2 separate regions of the Homo sapiens genome follow, and region 2 is linked to region 1. Evidence: promoter capture Hi-C in human tissues and cell types (Jung and others, 2019). All regions are on one chromosome and are shown on one strand. Each heading gives the region's core, a stretch centred on a gene start or on the middle of the fragment in contact. The rest is flanking DNA. Distances are from core to core; before and after follow the strand shown.

Region 1 (2,651 bases), core at 39-2,538:
ATGAACTGTAAAGATGAACATAGCATTAGAGAAAGTTGAGAGAAAAAAGCACAATGTTCTTTGATTATTTTTATTAACTGTATTCTTTCAATGCTCACATTTTGCTTTTATAACCTGAAAAAATATCCTAAAACATGCTTTTTAAACCAATATTCCACATCTTGTGTAACTATTACCATTATTGTGTCCTTCCTTACAGTGTGTATATAAATATTTGTATATGGTTGGGATCAGTTTGTGATATATTTCCTTTTGCAACTTAACATTGCCAAGGCACTTAGCTGGTTCTCATACTAAGTTATTTAACTGTCTAATAACTTAAGTAGATGAACCTTAATTTATTTAGAATCCCGTATTGCAGAGTATCTTGGTCGTTTCTAACTTTTTAGTATAAATAGCTCGGTGGTGCACATTTCCACGCATAAACTGCCCCTCCTCCCTTCCTCCCATTCTGAATGACAGGGCTGGAGCGGGTGGGGGTCTCTGAAGGGTCCTGGGGATGTCTTTCGTCCAAGCTCATGCCCTTCCTAATTTTGCTTAGTCACTCCTTCATCCCACCCCCACACATACTCGACGTAGAAATGGCTGGGCATAAAGCCAACATCTGGTGACCAGACCAGGAAAGGGGCCAGGAGCTGGGGACCACCGGGTGAGAGGAGGTTGAGGGGTGCTAGCGAATCCCACCTACCCTCCACCCTGCACCGCAGCTCTGGGGGCGTCCTTGCCCAGGACTAGTTTCAGACCAGCCGGCGACTCGCAAGGCCAGGCTGCTTGGCCAGGCTGCTGACTTTTCCAAAACGCGAGGGGACAGTCCGAAGAGTTCCCGGACGGATTAGCCCAAAGAGCTGCGGGCGAGGGTCGGTTGAGGGAAGAAAATGTGTGCGCGACATGCGTCCGAAAGCTAGACTTCTGATCCTCGCTCCCCGCGGGGCTGGACCCGTGACCCTGAGCTAGTCGCCTGACTCGCCGAGCCTCAGTTTCCTCACCTGTGAAATGGGGATAATTGTGAAGATGAGGAGATAACTTGAGCACAGCACTCTGTGCAGCGCCAGGCACCGAGTAAGGGCTCCATAAACGCTAACCAACCCGTGACAGGGGAAAATTGAGGCTCAGGGCCATCCCGTCCAAGTGTTTTGCCGAGGCCCCAGGGCTTGGCTAGGGATGGACGCCGGGTGTGAACGGAGTCGCTCGCAGCCCAGCGGCCAGGAGCTCCGCGAGGATCGAGGGGACGAAACTCACCTTCTTGGCCCCCGGGCGTCCAGCAGGTGCCATGGTGCCGCGGCTCTGTGGGCGCCGGGTTCCCGGGCGCGCGGCCGTCTAGGAGCCCGCCCCCAGCCCGGGGGGAGGATCCGACCCCCGCCCCGCCGGCCCCGCGGCCTCAGGCTGCCCGCTGGCCTCGGAGCAGGCGCCTGCGCCCTCGGCCTCGGCCTAGTCATGCTCCGTCCCGGCGCGCAGCTGCTGCGGGGCCTCCTGCTGCGGAGCTGCCCGCTGCAGGGCTCCCCCGGGCGCCCGCGCTCTGTCTGCGGCCGGGAAGGGTGAGTGGGGCCCCGTCCTGCTCAGAGGCGACGGGGCGGCTGCGGGGGTGGGAGCCAGAGGCTGAGGCAGGCTCAGGGGTTAGGAGCGCTCTGGCCTCCAAGAAATAGGCCTTGATATATCTTCTCGAATTATCTTTTAATTATAAAGTGAAACAGTATCCAAAGGTTCCCCGTGTAAAGTCTCTCCTGCCCCAATCCCCTTGGCCAGTGAACAATTGTTAATAGTGTCTTCTGAATCTAACCAGAGACAGTCTACGCATAGGCAAACACAGGTCAGTATAGGTTTTCCTTTGGCTTTTTGACATCTTGCTTTTTACAATTATCAATATATCTTGGAGATTGTTCCATATCAGCACACACTGACTTGCCTTGTTCCTTTTAATGGCTGCATAGTTTTCCATCCTGTCAATATTCTACACTATCGTTAGTCTATTCATTAACATTTAAATGGTTTTTGGTTGTTTATTACTGCAAATAACGTGCATGTGAAAATTCTTAGGCATCTATCTTTGAGTACATATGGGAGTCGGTAGCAACAGTTTTTAAAGGTGAACTTGTTAGGGAAAAGGTTACGTGCATCTGAAAGATTGAAAGACAGCAACACATTCTCCAAGTGGGTGGCAAGAGTTTGCATGCGGCACACCAGTGTGTGTCTGTTTCCCACATCTTCCCTGGTTCCCAGAATAGCCCATTTTGTTATCTTTGCTAAATCTGATAGGTAAAAATGGCATGTCCTTGTTTTGATTGGTCTGTATTTAAATATGAGCAATGCTGAACATCTTTCGACTTCTTATATTTGTAGATTATTCCTGGTTGCCAGGAAAGGCTTGTTTATCAGCATCACTCAACATTATTATGAGTTGATTCGAATTTTATTTTATGTCCTATGACCTGAAATTCTGGAATCAGAAGACCTGCTTTTGAGTTCCATCTATCCATTCAACAAATATTTACTGGGTGTTGTGATGTGCTAGGTTTGTCTCCAGTACTGGGAATGCAGTAGCCACCAACTCACAGTTCCTGCGCCATCTGTTACACAGAATGTGACCTTACACTTCTGAGGTTCAGTTTCCTCATCTATAAAATGAGGATACTAATTTTGCTCTATATAACTCA
Region 2 (2,651 bases), core at 79-2,578, 48 kb after region 1:
AGAATAAGGGCAGCAGCGGCTACTGTTTAGGATATTTGTTAGAACTCCAAAAATAAAATGTCCTGCCCTAGATGGTTGTAAACTAAAGACTGATTTCCCATCCTGTGGAAATACGTGAATACATGTATATGACTCAATCAGGCCAAGGAAACCTTTTTCATGACCCTGTGTCAGTTCCCAAATTCTGAGCTATAATATTAAAATAAAACATGTGTATTTATAGTATGAGATTTTAGGAAAACGAACCTCCTAAAGGGTTTTAAAGGGAATATCTTTCTGTACATTCTCCCCATGGCTTTTATTTTTATGATGTACCATCTGCCTCCAGACCAGAGAAAGCAGGTGCTTGGAATTTGGGCAGACCCTAGCAGCAGATTGCTCCCTCTGATAGCAGAAGCCTTACTTTAGCTGTTTCAAATAAGGTTAAAAATGGCCCAACTCTTGAAAGTGCTAAATTTCTGTTATTGGTCACCAGTAGGTAGATAGATAACTGATTCTTTTGCTTCAGTGTTCGGATATTATTGTTTGGGGATAAGGCATAGATAAATAATCCCTTCGTATTGAAATGGGATTTTCAAATATCTTTTATGATTATTAGCAGGGGTGGATTGTGTCTTTGTTAGTTAAGTTATACAGCCAAATAACCAAAGCTCATCTCAGAACGTAGTTAGTTGTTTAGAAGATACTAATTTTGATTTCTGGCATGTTTTTATAATTTCTGAATTGTTGTTTCTCATTCAAGTGTCACAAAGTTAATTCCTAATGATTTTATAGGGTAAAGGTCCTTGTAGCCCAAGGACCTGGCCCCCAACTGAGCCAGTCTTTTTCAATTATGTCAATTCAAGTGGCTAGTTGGTATTAACCTACTCATAATGATGCTTGCTAATCTCCAAGACAGGTGAATAGATTAGATCAACTTTGGTGGTTTTGTAGCAGTCTATAATGTGAAACGGATGCCTGGAAACCTTATTAACATTACAAACTAAGCTTTGTAACTTGACCATTCAAGTCCTGTGCCTAAAAACCAAAATGTTACCCAAACTAGCTTCATACAACATTTTAAATACTGTAAGCCTATAATTGCTTCGGAAAATCGATGCTATAGGAGAACAGAAGCAACAGCTAATACAGAGAGATATTTATATTTGATACCAAAACAAACACAGCAAAAACCCTGGCATTTTACAATTGTTTGAAATCAGTTATTTCTTTCCCTTCAGAGCAAACATTTAGAATTCTCTGGTTGGCCCTTAGGCATTTACACTATGATCGTTTAAGCCATAATGTGAAGAAAAGGTAGAAGCTGACTGTATCAGAGCTAGATGGGTCCCTGGGGATCAGCTGGTACTCCCCTCCCCCATCTGAAGCAGAGGAAACTGAAGCACAGAGAGGGAAAGTGACCTGGGGGAGGCCACTGCTTTAGCTTAGGTCGAACGCCACCCTCTGACCTCATCGTGGAGCTTTCCCACCCACCACTTTCCCCCACAAAGTCCTTTTCCACAGTGGGCTTATCAGACTTGAAAGACTGCCCAAGAATTTCTCTCTCTGGTAACATATATTGTTTGTATGGACTACCTTTTATTAATAGACACTTCCCCCACATGTTTTTGCTGTAACTAATTTTGTGTTTTATGATAGGATCAGAATAGCTGCTTTGCCCATTTTAAGGAGGAAAATGGCTGGGTGAGCAGATGGGCCATCAGGCCTTATTAGGGTGAATCGTGTTCTTGTCAAAACCTGTCAGCAAGTAGGGAAAAGAACAATGGAGTACTGAAGAACTCTTTCATCACAAAGGGAGACGGCGCAGTGGCCCTTGCTTCCTTCCGTCTTGGAGTTGTTCCAGCCTCCTTCCCCTGCTGTTGGCTTATGTGAAGTTGATACACATGTATCATTCATTCATCCGTTCATCTAGTAGACATTTATTAAGTACCGCTGATTAGACACCTTGCTAACCCATAGATCTAAATGTTAAAGATATACTCCTGATGGCTCTCAGATCTCATGAACCTGGAAACAAATAATATTTCAGGAACTAAAGCTGTAGGGATACGTTCTTAGCCGTAATTGTGAAGATAACCCTTCCGCAAGTGGAGGGCTCTCCAGCCGCATACAACACTGCCATCTTGTGGGAAGTGCTCCGTAGAGCCACTTCAGGAAGCCTTGACCAAAGCTGCGGTAAAAATAATTGAATCTGTACTTTTAAAATCTTCTTAACTAAAAACGCTTCACCTGAAACGACTCATATCATTGTTCTCAATGGTATTTTTGGTATGTTCCAAAGGAAGTAACTTTTGGGAGGAAAATCAGTAGCCTTTGTTTAGTTGGAGATGGAAGAAATGCATTAATCAAGAGCAAAAGGAAAATCAGCTGCCTTTGGATGGAGTCATAGGCATTCCTGGAATTTTCATGGTGGAAATATTGAATTTTTGTCCATTTCTGGAGAACCTCCACGAAGATTCACAGAGACTCAAGTATTAAACGTAATGTGTTGAAGCACATCAGAAGAATTTGTTTTCTATAATATGTTTCTCCCTCTTTTTCTCACTCTCTCCTTCTCCCTCTCTTTCCCTTTTTCTCTCTCCTTCCCCTCTCTCCCCGTGTAGAGCTTCTAACTAGTAGAAACAGAATAAAATGTAATCTCTATTAAACAT

What was found. The method cuts DNA at HindIII sites, captures the fragments that hold promoters and counts their contacts. A contact is called where the count stands out against the background at its distance.
Region 2: a fragment that was not itself captured here is called in contact with the fragment with the promoter of BHMT2 in region 1 in 2 of the 25 tissues and cell types used here (liver and mesendoderm cells).

The regions. Positions count from the first base shown.
Region 1 is chr5:79,068,404-79,071,054 of GRCh38, reverse strand. It overlaps BHMT2 (betaine--homocysteine S-methyltransferase 2), which reads right to left and starts at 1,288. Exons shown (of 8, transcript NM_017614.5): 1 at 1,240-1,288. The coding sequence starts at 1,272. It overlaps DMGDH (dimethylglycine dehydrogenase), which reads left to right and starts at 1,381. Exons shown (of 16, transcript NM_013391.3): 1 at 1,381-1,535. The coding sequence starts at 1,435. The HindIII fragment of the contact is 19,729 bases long and covers 1-2,651 here.
Region 2 is chr5:79,020,669-79,023,319 of GRCh38, reverse strand. The region is part of intron 14 of DMGDH (dimethylglycine dehydrogenase); the gene reads left to right. Among named protein-coding and RNA genes, the nearest start is that of ARSB, 37 kb to the right of the region's middle. RefSeq lists an enhancer at 1,116-1,617. The HindIII fragment of the contact is 5,347 bases long and covers 1-2,651 here.